Regions from separate parts of the Homo sapiens genome. Here regions 2, 3, 4 and 5 are each linked to region 1. The links are contacts of gene promoters, found by promoter capture Hi-C in blood cells and fetal thymus (Javierre and others, 2016). All regions are on one chromosome and are shown on one strand. The core of a region is centred on a gene start or on the middle of the fragment in contact, and the rest is flanking DNA. Distances in the headings are between cores, read along the strand shown.

What was found. Contacts are between HindIII fragments. The CHiCAGO score rates a contact against its expected background, and 5 or more counts as called.
Region 2: a contact is called between a fragment that was not itself captured here and the fragment with the promoter of MTF1 in region 1, in 1 of 17 cell types (fetal thymus). The highest score is 5.5, in fetal thymus.
Region 3: a fragment that was not itself captured here is called in contact with the fragment with the promoter of MTF1 in region 1 in 2 of 17 cell types (fetal thymus and neutrophils); the score reaches 8.2 in fetal thymus.
Region 4: a contact is called between a fragment that was not itself captured here and the fragment with the promoter of MTF1 in region 1, in 1 of 17 cell types (M2 macrophages). The highest score is 5.1, in M2 macrophages.
Region 5: a fragment that was not itself captured here is called in contact with the fragment with the promoter of MTF1 in region 1 in 10 of 17 cell types (M1 macrophages, M2 macrophages, fetal thymus and 7 more); the score reaches 8.6 in M1 macrophages.

Annotation. Positions count from the first base shown.
Region 1 is chr1:37,858,144-37,860,871 of GRCh38, forward strand. MTF1 (metal regulatory transcription factor 1) reads right to left here and starts at 1,449. Exons shown (of 11, transcript NM_005955.3): 1 at 1,388-1,449. It overlaps INPP5B (inositol polyphosphate-5-phosphatase B), which reads right to left. Exons shown (of 24, transcript NM_005540.3): 24 at 2,554-2,728. RefSeq lists a silencer at 1,386-1,715. The HindIII fragment of the contact is 3,574 bases long and covers 662-2,728 here.
Region 2 is chr1:38,019,450-38,022,258 of GRCh38, forward strand. All of the region lies in intron 6 of UTP11 (UTP11 small subunit processome component), which reads left to right. Among named protein-coding and RNA genes, the nearest start is that of UTP11, 8.1 kb to the left of the region's middle. The HindIII fragment of the contact is 2,007 bases long and covers 468-2,474 here.
Region 3 is chr1:37,997,235-38,000,298 of GRCh38, forward strand. FHL3 (four and a half LIM domains 3) reads right to left here. Exons shown (of 6, transcript NM_004468.5): 2 at 2,023-2,198; 3 at 1,740-1,914; 4 at 729-898; 5 at 450-636; 6 at 1-325. The coding sequence starts at 2,178. The coding sequence ends at 171. Among named protein-coding and RNA genes, the nearest start is that of FHL3, 6.7 kb to the right of the region's middle. RefSeq lists enhancers at 254-1,175, 2,265-3,052, 3,053-3,064. The HindIII fragment of the contact is 9,250 bases long and covers 1-3,064 here.
Region 4 is chr1:37,678,671-37,681,567 of GRCh38, forward strand. No RefSeq gene overlaps it. Among named protein-coding and RNA genes, the nearest start is that of AIRIM, 10 kb to the right of the region's middle. The HindIII fragment of the contact is 3,960 bases long and covers 1-2,897 here.
Region 5 is chr1:37,695,410-37,698,258 of GRCh38, forward strand. CDCA8 (cell division cycle associated 8) reads left to right here. Exons shown (of 10, transcript NM_001256875.2): 3 at 501-541. Among named protein-coding and RNA genes, the nearest start is that of CDCA8, 4.3 kb to the left of the region's middle. The HindIII fragment of the contact is 2,946 bases long and covers 1-2,723 here.

The DNA.
Region 1 (2,728 bases), core at 199-2,698:
AGCAAACAGAACAGCAGCTGCTGAAAGGCTGAGTTGCTACAAATCTTAAGGGAAACTCCATCCATTCAAATATCCTCCAAATCAGACCACGAGGCAGTAAATGGTTTCATGCAGTTTATGGTAGAAGGAGCAAGGCTTTGGAGGCAGAGTCATCTACCTACAAATCCTGTCTTTGCCTTTTACTACATGGGTAACTTTTCTGTGCCTCATTTTTCTTACGTGCAAGGTGGGACCAGTAATTCCTGTTCTCTCAAAGTTTTTATAAGAAATAAAAGAGGCAACATATGTAAAGCACAATGTTTGGTAAATAGTAGAGGAACAAGTATGAATTCCTTCCCCCCTACCTAGAACAGATGTTTCAACCTTCTGGGTGGAAGGGCTATTCCTCAATCAGGCACAAACAACGAAGATCACTGTATCTATTTATGTCCTAAAACAATATGGTGTCAACAAGAAGTTATGGTTCTGTGGTGGGCTCTCGTCCCTGAATCAATTGAGTCTTATTATTTTTGTTTCTACAGCTCCTAGCATAGTACACTGATACTATGATAAGAGTTCAGGAAATGTCAGCTAAATGACTGAAAGACATGGCTACCTACTCTCTCGTGAAGATATACTATCTTGGGAAGATACATTCTCTTGAGAAAAATACCACATTTGAAGCTTTCATGTTCTGGAATAGTGATTCTTCCTTCATCTGCAAACACAGGCTCTACAAATGTGGGTTTGGCAGGCAGAATAGAGAATTTTAAAATAATCAGCACATCCCTTTTAGTTTTCAGTCTGGCTTTGCGCTTTATCTTTCTCTTCTGCTCTGGGTTAGAAAGTGAGCCTTTACTTAGTGGGATGGCTAGACAGTTACCAGAGACAGGCCAAAGGATTGGATCCGGGAGGTACCGGCCCGACCCCTAGCTCTGGCTTACGCAACCCCACAGATGTACATTTCGCTGCATCTGAGCAGAGAGAGAAGAGCACCGAGGGCCCCAGTGGGCTGCCCCGGCACCCTCGGCGGCAACGCGGAGACCAACTGTCCGAAACAAACAAGACCAGGAGGTTTGAGGGTAGCCAACGAGGAGTGCGAACAGAGCCCCCTTGAGAGGAGGCTGGGAAAAGGAACCTGTCTGGGATAGCCCCCAGCACAGGGCTACACAGAAAAATCCGAAGACAAGCTGGGGGTCTCCAAGCAAGGAGGAGAGGGGCAGGGTCCGGGTCTCCATGGAAACAGGGAAGGGGGGCTGGATACCCATCCCCATGGAAACGGAGAAGGGGTGGGGTCCCTATGGTGACCAAACTGAGGTCTCTATTGGGAAATGCTTCAGGAGGGAGCCTAAGTCCCGCGCCTCCCGGTAAGTCCCAAGCCCAGGCCGAGTCTAGTTTCGCCTTTTACCTCCGCGGCTCCCGGCAACGGCGGCAGCAGCAGCTTCTCCCCTCCCCAGCGGCACCATGATTGCCCCCACCTTCCCCTAACGTCACTTCCGCTTCCTCTTTCCGGAGGAAGGTGGGGACAGAGGATCCGCCCCTCCCTGGCGCCTCTGGTTGGCTCAGGTTGTCAGGGGGCTGAGCTGCAGCCTCCAATTGGCGAGCGGGGCACCGAGGGGAAGGCGCCCAGGAGGTGGGTTCATCCGCGTGGGGAAGCGCCCGGGGTGGCCACGCGGGGCCCGGAGGGTGTCGCCCTCGCGGCACCGGAGTCAAGGAGAAGGGAACGAATCCCCAAGGAAGAATCCGAAATGTCCTCAGCCAGGTTTGCGCTGACCGCCCTCGCCCTGGCAGCCACAGCCGCAGCGGGAAGGACCACAGTTGGCAGTCAGAACCCTGGCTCCAACCCGCCAGGGGAGCCTGGACGGCCGCGACGTTCCCGGGTTTCTCCTGCCGGGACCCCGGCCTTCCCTTCAGCACCCATCAAAGTTAACACAGGCAGGAGGCCCAGAAAGGAAGACAAGACCCCAAAGGCAGAACTAAGAGTATTCTAAGCCCAGCTGGAGAGGACGCCGCCGCCTCTTCCCCTTCTCACGCGCTTGCCTAGGACCCCCAGCTCCCTTCTCACGCGCTTGCCCAGGCTGGCGGTCCCAACTTTCTTCCCCTGCAAGAGGACGCGGCTACGGCGGGACTCATGCCCGGGCCAGTTAGCGCCACCTACCGGCCACTCCCTTCCTTTCACCGTTCACATTGTCCTGCTGGCCCGCGTCTTAAACCCATTTCACAGTGCCCAGAAGTAGTGGGCATTCGTACCCAGGAAGCGATTCTGCCTTCGTTATGCCCCTGTCCTTTCCAAATGCCTGGAGGATCTAGCTGTTAGATCCTCCCAGCTGCCACTGCCTGTTTTAACCATAAGCTGCTTCTCTCGAATATTCAGAGTGGGACAACTCCAAAGACCAGACCAGGGGTCAAGGGGTTCAGGTCAGTGCCATAACCATTTCTTGCTGGAAGTATGTGAATAGTGACTGGTACCCACCAGACTGCCAGGAATATGTCTCTTTGGCCCCAAGGCTTGAGCCACAAAATCCAGCTGCAGCGAACTGCCATCTCTTAAGACATAAAAACATACACAACCGCCACTGTTAAAAATACATTTATCATTAAAATATATTACACATGGAGACAGGATGCATCATATACAGTTTGGAAGACTTGCTGGCCCAGAAAATCCCACTTGTTTCACCGAACACTCATTTTTTCAGTGATTTTACATTTTATTTTTAGAGACGGGGTCTCCCTCTCTCACCCGGGC
Region 2 (2,809 bases), core at 221-2,720, 160 kb after region 1:
TTTTTTTGCTACTGCATTTAAAATAATTTTTAAAATTTATTTTATTTTATTTTTTAGTCAGAGTCTCACTGTCTCCCAGGCTGGAGTGCAGTGGCACGATCTCGGCTCACTGCAACCTCCGCCTCCTGGGTTCAAGCAATTCTCATGCCTCAGCCTCCCCAGTAACTGGGACTATAGGGGTGCAACACCACACCCAGCTTATTTCTGTATTTTTCATAGAGATGGGGTTTCGCCATGTTGGCCAGGCTGGTCTTGAACTCCTGACCTCAGTTGATCTGCCTGCCTTGGCCTCCCAAAGTGTCGGGATTACAAGCGTGAGCCACTGTGCCTGGCCTAAAATAATTATTTATTTATGGAAAACTCATGAGTTCCCTTAGAAAAGTGGATTTGTAGGATGATTTGATGATGGGATGGAAGTGGAGAAGGGCTTCCTAATTTCTATGATCGGAGGAGGTATAGTGGTCAGAAGCTTAGGTTCTGGCCTTTAGACCTGGGTTTGAATCCCAATTCTGACCCTGCGCTTTGTGCTTTTAATACTTGTAACAGATGCCAGTGTTTTGAAAATGCAGAGAAAGGGATTGCTGAAGATTAAAGGATTTGCAATACTTTAATATTGAACCTTTAGCAGTGAATACGCACATCAAAAGGTCTTTCTGTGTTTTTATTTTTCTTGAGACAGGGTCTCACTGTCACCCAGGCTGGAGTGCAATGGTGTGATTATGGCTCACTGCAGTCTCCACCTTCTGGGCTTAAGCGATCCTCCTGCCTCAGCCTCCTGGGTAGCTGGGACCACAGGTGTGTGCCACCATGCCTAGCTAATTTTAAATTTTTTTTGTAGAAACGGGGTCTCGCTAAGTTGCCCAGGCTGGTCTTAAACTCCTGAGCTCAAGTGTTTACTCCCGCCTTGGCCTCCTGAAGTGTTGGGATTACAGGCGTGAGCCACCATGCCTGCCCAAAAGGTCTTTCATATTGTGTATTGTAACAAAAATTTTGTTTTGGCTTTTCCTTATGGTGCTTTCCGTCACTGTAACTGGGTTGTGCAGAAGACATGCTTTTCCTGAAAGCCTTCTGGAGTTGAACTCTTCTGACTGATTCATTAAAAAAAAATGCTGTCAATGTGTTTCAAGCAGACAGCTGTTCTGTTTTGATTTGAATCATTTACACTGCATCAGTTTTGCTTCCAATGTTTAATTTCACAGCAGTTTTCTCTAGCTCAGAGGCAGCTAAACTTGCTTTAGTAATATAAATACCCCTAATTAGTTTGACTATATTGGGTAATCCCATAAATCTGACAGTCTGTGCAATAAAGCGAAAACAAAAGCTGTCTGAAACCACTGCTGTGAGACTGTGCTAGAATCTGTGAATTGTTGAAGTCTAAGGCCCAGTAATATTTCCTTCTGTAGATAACACTTCCAGCCAAAGAGCTTGCTCATGAGTGTTCTTGTGATAACCCTGTTGTTTGTCAATTAGGTGTACTTTTTTTTTTTTTTGAGACGGAGTCTCACTCTGTCACCCAGGCTGGAGTGCGGTGGCGTGATATCGGCTCACTGCAACCTCTGCCTCCTGGGTTCAAGCAATTCTCTTGCCTCAGCCTCCCGAGTAGCTGGGATTACAGGTGCCCGCCACCACGCCTGGCTAATTTTTTGTATATTTAGTAGAGACAGGGTTTCACCATTTTGGCTAGGCTGGTCTTGAACTCCTGACCTTGTGATCCACCCACCTCAGCCTCCCAAAGTGCAGGGATTACAGGCGTGAGCTACCGCGCCCGGCAATTAGGTGTACTTTCAATTAGCCGTGTCACTGACGCTTCTCAAGAATTGTGGTAGTCCCTAAAGAGATTAGTATTCCAAATTCCCATGTAGAATAGTTCACCAGCATAGCTTTTGAGAAGTTAGGGAGGTTTAGATTTTTGCCATTTTTGTCTAGTAATTATGTTTCTTTCTATTTTGTTTACTGCAAAATCATTTTTATTAAGAGACTGCTGGTGGGTGGATTGCAAGGATATTTTGTCTGTAACTTCGAGTGGGTAGACAACCCATGAGTGAGCTTTAGGAGGTCTGAGAAAACCCCCCTTTCTCACTGGTATTTTGTGCAGATAGGTATATGTGCTTGCACAACCTTTTACAAATGTGTATGTACATTTATCTCAAGAAACATCCCATGCTGGGCGTGGTGGCTCATGCCTGTAGTCCCAGCAATTTGGGAGGCCAAGGCAGGTGGATCACTTGAGGTCAGGAGTTCGAGACTAGCCTGGCCAATGTAGTGAAACCCTGTCTCTACTAAAAATACAAAAATTAGCCAGGCGTGGTGGCGGGCACCTGTAATCCCAGCTACTAGGGAGGCTGAGGCAGCAGAATTGCTTGAACCCAGGAGGCGGAGGTTGTAGCGAGCCGAGATAGTGCCACTGCACTCCAGCCTGGGCGACAGAGCAAGACTCCGCCTCAGAAAAAAAAAAAAAAGAAGAAAGATCCCAAAGCTTTCATCAGTTTCTCTGAGGTTGATGATTCCCCAAAATGTAAGGACCCCACTGATCTTTGAGGAGTCATTAGCAGTGAGAATTCTCAGGTGAGCTTCTGCTGAAAAAATTCTTCTGCTTTCTGAGTGGTAAGATTTTCAGGCACCAGCACACTGCCTGGGGACCCTTCTGTTGCCGACTCTTCTGTTGCTCTCCATTCACTTTGTATAGGGTTTCCAACACTGATTCATTCCTGCCATCATCTCAGGTGACTGTGGCACTCACACAAAGGTTGAAGCAGCTTAGTGTAGTAGTGGAAAGATTCCTGGGATTTGTGAGAGGGGGACGGTCCTG
Region 3 (3,064 bases), core at 427-2,926, 140 kb after region 1:
CTGGGTCAGGGAGTACCAGTTTGGGGATGCTGGAGTGGGGAGACAATCCTGGAGCCCAGAAGGAGACCCATTTTTTTTGGCGGGGGGAGCTGAGTCCCAGAGGTGGTTTAGAAAAGGAGCCACAGTCCTGGGCCCGTGGTATGGGAAAGCCTGGGTCCAGGAGCCCTGGCTTAGGGCCCTGCCTGGCTACAGCCCTGGCAGAGCACTTGGTCTCCATCCGGTACGAAGCCCTGGCCCACCAGGGAGGTAGAGCAGCGGGCGCAGGAGAAGCAGTTGTGGTGCCAGTGTCGGTCTTCAAAGGACACATACTTGCCTCCACCGAGTCCTGGAGGGAGGCTGGAAGTTAGCTATGCAGATGTGGGGATGGTCCGGCCCTCAACCTCACCCAATACCACATCCCACTCCCTTGCCTGCACCCTACCCACTCCGTTCTTTGACCCTTGTCCCACCTACGATGGGGCGCTTGCAGCTGCTGCACTTAGGTGCAAAGAGTTCTCCAAAACAGGCCACACAGTAGGGATCTTCATCCCGGGAGGTGAACTGCTGCCCTGCCAGGGGCGTCTGGCATCCGGTACAGACCAGACATTCTCGATGCCACGGCTGATCACGGTATGTCACTCCACCCTGTGTCAGCGTCTGTGGGGGCAGCATCCATTAGTAGGTATGAGTGGGGATTCCCACCCCACAACAGGCCTCACTCACCCCCACCTGGCTGGCCCAGCCCCCACCTTGCTGCAGCGGGCGCAGCGAGGAGCAAACTTGTTCTCATAGCAGGGCACGCAGTAGTGAGCACCCTTGTCGGGCACAAAAGAACGGGAGCCCAGTGGCTGTTCACAGCCACTGCACAGGAAGCAGTGCTCATGCCATGTCTGGCCTCCATATTCCAGCTTCCGGGACCCTGTGGGGAACAGGGGTCCCATTTAGAGGTTGTGTCCCATGCTCCTGAGGGCCACCCTCTGTAACTTCCCCAGGAGTCTCCACTCCTCTCTCAGCGTGAGCAGGGTGGTGTCCGTGCACATGCAGCAAGAACCCCCCCGCCCTATGTATATTACACATGCTAACCTCTCCCCAGACACCGGACATGATGACCCAGCTAGACACGAGGGTTTTGGCCTATGTTAAGCCCCCATATGTCCCAGAGATGACAATTTCAGCACACATCAAGCCTCCATGTAACAGTCATGAAGTCTCACTAAGAGCTAAGCCCTCATATAACAGATGTGATGATTTTAGCACTCACATGGGACCCCACATGTACCAGGCAAGTAAGTATCTGCCCACACAAAGTTCTAATGCCCTGGGCATGACAGGTTCGGTACATGCTAAGCCCTCGCATCTCCTCGGCACACCATTCTCCATAGGTGCTGAGTCCCAGCATTTCTATTAGGCATGCAGGTCCCCACACATGTTAAGCCCTCTGTTTATCTGCTTCTGCATACATTAAGACCCAATGCAACAAGCATGACAGTCTCAGCACACCTCTAGTTCCTACCTGTACTAAACATGCAGATATTCACACATGCTAAGCCCCCAAGTATGTATCACATGTGTCAATCTGCCTGTACATAGTAGCCCCCAGGAGTATACCAGGCAAACAGATCCCGTATATACTAAATTTCCAGAAACATGCTGTGTATGCAGGTCTTTACACAGACCAAGTCTCCATGTATCAGACAGACACATGCAAAGACCCTACGCAGATGCCAGTTCTCACACAAGATGAGCCCCTGAACACATACCAGGCATGACAGTCTCCCCACAAGCGGAGCACTGCGAGGAAAACGCACTGCAGTAGCAGTCATTGCAGAGCAGCTCACTGTCCTGGCAGGTGAAGGGTTCATCGGCTAGTGAGCGCTGGCAGCGGCAGCAGCGGAAGCAGCCCTCGTGGAAATGGCGGTCTTCATAGAACAGCTCCTGTGGGGAACACAGCAGGGGCACTGGCACCCAGGCCTCATGGACCCATCCTTTGCCCCCTTCCACTGGTCACCACCCACCTCCTGCCTGGCCTGGCCCTCTCCTTACCCTCGAGTCATGCCCGATAAGCTGCTGGCACTCAGCACAGGTGTTGGCAAAGGTATTGTCATAGCAGGGCACACAGTAGGGGCCGCTGTCTGTCTGGATGTACTTGCGTCCATACAGGGACTCGTTGCATTTTGCACAGTCAAATGACTCGCTCATGGTGGCAAGGGGAGAGAACCCTGTTAGGAGCACAAGGTGGAACTGGGGTCACACAGAGAGGCTGTGGCTTGGCTCCTGGCAAAGAGGCCTCTGCATTCAAAACACAGCCAAGAGACCCGGCATAGGAAATGCCAGTTCAGAGTAGGTGGGGATGGGGAAGGGGTGCTTCTGGGAAACCAGGAATCCCACATGTTTCTTTCTGTATTTAACTCGGGGTAGGAAGAGGTCAGGAAAAAAACCAGGAAGCAGAAGTTGTTTTCTTATCTAGGCCCTAGCAGATCTAGGGGGAGGGGGCTTTTCCTGGGTCAGTGACTCATTTCCTGTCCCAGCCAGCGTCTAGCCTCCACTGTCCCGACTGTCCCCAGCGTGGGAGAAGCAGGGGCAGGGAGCCACCCCACTCTACTCCTTATGAGCAGTACTCCCACCCTCTCCTGACTCCCAGGAAGGGACTTTAGGAATATGGATAAAGGAACCCTTAACCAGAGCTCTGGAGTACAGAACTTAGAGACGGGAATGGGCTGTGCCTGCCCCTCCTGATCCAGAAAACAGTGGAATGCTAGAGAGGTGCTGGACTAATGAATGGTAGAAGAGGCCAGTGTGAGAGGTTGGGCCTTCCCTCCCGGGGAATCAGCCAAGCAATGGGAACTTCAGAGGCTCAGCTTAGGTTCAAGCAGGAAGGAAATCCTGCAAGCTGGACACAGCCAGTCTTCCCTAGCTAGACCCTCTGCCCTCATCCCCCCACCCCCGCTGTGTCACACCAGCTTGGACAGCCTTGGCCTGTAACATCTGCAGCAGCTGTGGCGGCACAGATGGCCAGATGTCAGGTTTTGCCAGCAATGGGGAGAAAAAAGGAAAATGAAGTGTCGGGGGAGGCAGAGGGGAACTG
Region 4 (2,897 bases), core at 275-2,774, 180 kb before region 1:
CTGAAGGTCAGTTTCTAGATGTGGATGGGGAGGGACAGGATAGAGGGAAACCAAAATTCTTCATTTCATCCCAAGACTGTCTTACACTGACAGAGAAAGGGGTTCTGACCCAGCTGAGGGAAAACAGAACAGAACTCACATTGGTGTCTTCATCCATAAGCCAGTGGCATACATAAAGGAGGAGCACCAGAAGTATTCCCAGTGTGGTGACTCTCCCTGAATTCGTTTATCAATTTAGTGATTCTAGTAAAAAATACTGACAATTTATTTTTTGTTGTTGGAAGGTGATGGGGTTAGCTAAATGGAAAATTCCAGGTGGTGGAGGGGAGGCCTAATGAACAAGAGTGGGAGTACAGGCGGGTTGCTACTATAAAAACCAATAGGTATTAAGACTTTGGAAACAAATGTCCACCCTAAGGAGCTATTTTAAGTAAATTATGGTTTACCCACACAACAGAAATCTATGCAACTGTTTAAAACAATGTAAGGAAGCTCTTTATATAGAATGAACTCCAAGATACGGTAAGAAAGAACAAGGTGCAAAAGTGGGTATATGGTATGTTAGCATTTATATAAAAATGAAGGGAGGTTTTTTTGTTGTAGTGATTATCTATCGCTGTGGAACAAATGGCCCCCAAACTTAGTGATTTAAAACATTTATTATCCCAGTTTACATGGATCAGGAATCCGGGCACTGCTTAGCTGGCTGCCTTTGGGTCGGGTCTTCAAGAGGCTGTAGTCAAGCTGTCAGCAGGGGCTGTGGACCCATCAGAAGGTTCAACTGTGGGAGGGAGGATCTGTTTCCAAGTTCAGTCACATGGTTGTTGGCAGGCATTGGTCTCTCACATGAGCCTCTCCACATGGCTGCCTCACAGCATCGCAGCTGCCTTTCCCCAGGGTGGGTGATCCCAGAGAGAGAGAGAGAGAGAGCACCCAAGATGGAAGCTGCAGTCTTTTTTACCTATTTCAGAAGTGACATCCTACCACTTGGGTAGTATTTTATTCATCAGAAGTATATCTGTGGCCGGGCGCGGTGGCTCACGCCTGTAATCCCAGCACTTTGGGAGACCAAGGGGGGCAGATCACAAGGTCAAGAGATCGAGACCATCTTGGCCAACATGGTGAAACCCTGTCTCTAACTAAAAAATACAAAAATTAGCTGAGCGTGGTGGCACATGTCTGTAGTCCCAGCTACTCGGGAGGCTGAGGCAGGAGAATCGCTTGAAGCCGGGAGGTGGAGATTGCAGTGAGCCAAGATCACGCCACTGCACTCCAGCCTGGTGACAGAGCGAGACTCTGTCTCAAAAAAAAAAAAAAAAAGAAGTATATCTGTCAGTCCAGCCCATCTGGAAGGAGAGGGGAGTACACAAGGGCAAGAATACCAGAGGTGGGAGCACTGGGGGCTGTCTTTGAGGATACCTACCCACCACACTCACACAGGCATAGTATTTTTGGAAAGATACACTAGAAACATTCAATATTGGTTGCCTTCAGGGAAGGGAATTGGGAAACTCCCACCTCAGCCTCGCAGATAGCTAGGACTACAGGCACACACCACCACACCTGGCTCTTTTTTTCATAAAGACAGGGTTGTCTGGCTAGTCTAAACTCCTGACCTCAAGCCATCCTCCCACCTTGGCCTCCCAAAGTGCTCGTACAGGCAAGAGCCATTGTGCCCAGCCTAAATATGCTCTTGCATACCTATTTTACAATATTGATATATCACTTAAAAAATAAATCAGGCTTGGTGTGGTGGCTCATGCCTGTAATCCCAGCACTTTGGGAGGCCGAGGCAGGCAGATCACTTGAGGTCAGGATTTGGAGACCAGCTTGGCCAACATGGCGAGACCTTGTCTCTATTAAAAATACAAAAATTAGGCAGGCATGGTGGTAAGCACCTGTAATCCCAGCTACTCTGGAGGCTGAGGCAGGAGAATCGCTTGAACTTGGGAGGCAGAGGTTGCAGTGAGCTGAGATTGTGCCTCTGCACTCCAGCCTGGGTGGGAGTGAGACTCTGTCTCAAAAAAATAAATTTTATTTTAAATTTAAAAAGAACAATGAAAAATATGGCATTTTAACAGACACAAAGCTAAGAGGGAACAAAATAAAAACAATACTTAAATACTATATAGTTATTACTGAGCACCATAAACGTGCTTGTTTCTACTTAGCCATTACTTGCTTCTATGAGGGAGGTTTAAAAACCTCTTTATTACACATGCATACACATAAGCGAGCATCTCCCACTTGTAGAGCAAAATACAAACGCTTGAGCTGGGACTCATAATCCTCTTCACAATTTGGTTCCAGTCCACCCTTACTGACCCACTTCCTGCCATCCTTCTATCCATCTGTGAACTTGTTATTTGTGATACTGAACTATTATTTGCCAGTTGTGGAGGGTAAAGGCAACAAGCACAATGCCTGGCACACAGCTAGCTTTCGTCAAGTGTTGGCTTCCATCCTGCCTCAAACATGGCCTTTGTTTAGATTATCCCCTGTGCATGGAATGCCCCGCACCCCTCTCCTAGCCCCAGGTAAAATTCCCTTCAAGGCCTACCTCAAATGTCACTGTCATCAAGAAGGAGTTCCACAGGCAATTAGTTATCATCTCTATTCTCCCACAGCACCTGTTTTTACCTTAACTATAACACTTTTATTATTGTATTACAACTTAAGTCTCTGCAATCCAAAGTCTGGTCCTTGGACCATTAGCTGAGACTTCGTTTGAAATGCAGAATCTGGGCCCCATCCCAGACCTACAGAATCAGAATCCAAATTTTAACAAGATATCAGTGACTTATTTGCACATTAATCTTTCCCTGGTGGAACTGTGAGCCTTTCTAGGGCTCTCTTTTATTTCTGTCCCCAGAGCCCAACATAAGACTTGACACTTA
Region 5 (2,849 bases), core at 1-2,500, 160 kb before region 1:
GGCGAAACCCTATCTCTACAAAAAAACACAAAAATTAGCCGAATGTGGTGGCGCATGCCTGTAGTCCCAGCTACTTGGGAGGCCAAGGTGGGAGGATCAGTTGAGCCCAGGAGACAGCCAAGGAGGCGCCACTCCACTCCAGCTTGGGTGACAGAGCAAGACTCTGTCTCAAAAATAAATAAAATTTAAAATATATTTTTTAAAAAGAAAAATAAGCAGAATTTTTGGGGTGATGTTTGAGCTGAGTTTTGAAGGATGAGTTAGAAATTTGTTAAGTACGGAGGTGAATTTCAGGCAGAGGAAATACAAAGTACCATGGCAACAAGTCATGAGAGTCAGTGGCACATTTGGGATATAACTTGGAGAAAGAATAGATTAGATGGTGAAGGTCCTTGAAGGTTAGACCAAGGGCTGGACCAGTTTTAGAAAGATAAATGGTACTATTAGGCAAGATGATTTATTGTTAAAATGTAATAGTAACTACAACGTTCTTTTTAAAGCCCTTGGAGGAAACAAACAGGCCCTGGAAGAGGCGGCAACAGTAAGTGACCTTTCCTATTTTCCAGCCAGTGGTTACTTAAGTCTAGTCCAGTCCCCAGATCCAACTAATAGATGCTTACTGTGGAAGAGGTTTCATAAAGGGACATCATCTGTTTGTGTCAACTGAAAAATTAGAGTTGGACCAGACACTGTATACATGAGACCCAGATAGTTCTGAGCCCTACAGAAGGTGGCAGTTCTGTTTTTGACCAATTTCTTGCAGTCCTTTGTTCTGAACTCTACAGCGGAAGTAGAAAGCCTCAAGCCCAAGTTCCTTTAAGCGCCTGAGTCATTACACTATGCATTGGCCTGCTAGATGATAAAGGTGTTTCATCATGTCGTACTGTAGAAGCAGTGCTTTTGCTTGGGATGCTCAGTATTCCCCAACCCCTCTCATCTCCTTCCTCCCAGCATCAGTGCCAGGATTGAAGGCAGTAAGATGGGGATGCAAAATAGAGCATTTAAAGCTGCACTGTCCAGTGTAGTAGCCACTGGGCATATGTAGCTATTTCAGTTAATTACAATTAATAAAATTAAAGAATTCATTTCCTCAGACATACTAGCCACATTTTACATGTTCAATACCTACATATGACTAGTAGCTACTCCATCAGAGAGCACAGAAATAGAACATTGCTACTCTTGCAGAAAGTTTTATGAGACAGCATTGGGAACTAGTCCATACATGGGCTTCACAGAGTCCCTAGGCACTCTAAAATAATATACAAACAATGCGTGTGTATGCACGCATTTGTGTATCTTTCTGTTAGTTTATTGTAGCCTTGATCAGATTTACAAAGTAAACCCCAAAATTACATCTTTTGTTGAGTTGATCAGAATCATTTGGAATATCAGGGTTTGAAGGAGTCTGACCACCAAGGGCACATAGCAGATCTCCGCCAGCTTCATTCAGAAGGTAAAGGTAATGAGGAGCCAATTATCAATTTGGAAAAAATTGGAGCATTTGGGAGAGAGGTGGGGATTATTCACCCCCCTACATACACTGAGCTCCAATGTTTTAAAAGAGTTACCTCTGAGATGAATTATGCTTACTAGCTAATGCAGTTCTCTCTTTTTAAATTAGAAATACAGAACTGCAAATGAGAACTTCTAATGTAATATGAGAGAGCCATTGTTACCACACCAAGTTGAGAGAATTCTAGCCTTGACTAATATGATTTAAAACTCCAGAAAGGAACGATAGAAAATCTATAAAAGCTCTTAGTTGGGAAGTGTGTTGGGGCTCCCAAGACCACCTCCAGGTTTGGTGATTCACTAGGAGGATTCATGGGGCTCAGCATACAGTCACACCCATGGCGATGATTTATTACAGTGAAAGTATACAAAGCATTAATCAACAAAGGAGAAAATTGCATAGGACAAAGTCCAGAGGAAACCAGGCTTCTAGGAGTCCACTCCCTGTAGAGTCAAACAGAACATGCTTAATTCAACACATATGAAATGCTGTCTACCAGAAAATCTGATTAGAGAGTCAATGCCCAGAGTTTTAACTGGGGGCTGCTCACATAGGCATCCTCTGCCTAGCACATGTCAAAATCCTAGACTTTCAGGAGGGAAGTAGGTGTTCAGCATGAGCCATATTGTTTGCATAAAGTTTAGGCACAGTGAGGCATCTTGTTAAGGAAAGGTGGGAATCTTTCTGAAATCAAGTTCCCAGATGCCAACCGAGGCCAGGCTTGCAAACAGGCCTTTCTATGTGTATCAGTCTCAGGCCTGCTCTGTTAACTGTCCTGCACAGTAGATGCCCAGTGGCCTGCCACCACTGATGACTCCATAAAATGCCAGTTGTTTCTAGAGATGGCAGAAGGTTGGCAGGAATGCCCCTACTTTCTGTTGCATCAAGCCTGGCAAACATCAGTAACTTATTACAGCCCTATTTCTTGCTAAGCCTAAGACAGCCTCAGAATCCTTCTCTGAGTATGTCAAGCAGTCCCTACCAGAAATGAAACCTGTGCCATTCCAAACCTGTAGTAATTATTCTGATGTTTACATGTGTTCTATAAGGAAAGGACTGTGAATCATGACTGCTCTTTGTAGTGCCCATACTTATTACCATATGAAAAAAAAACGAATTTGAATGGTGACTGGAAGCCTTTTTGAAGGACCCAGGATCATCATAGAAAACCTTATTGAGACCCTGTAGATTTATCGAAAAAATGGTAAGCTTGACACACCACCAAGTGTTGTAGAGGATGTAGATCATTAGGAACTTGTATTGTTTGCAGATGGGCTGTAGTCAAGGGTAACCACTTTGGGAAACAATTTGGCATAATGCGAAGGCTGAATAT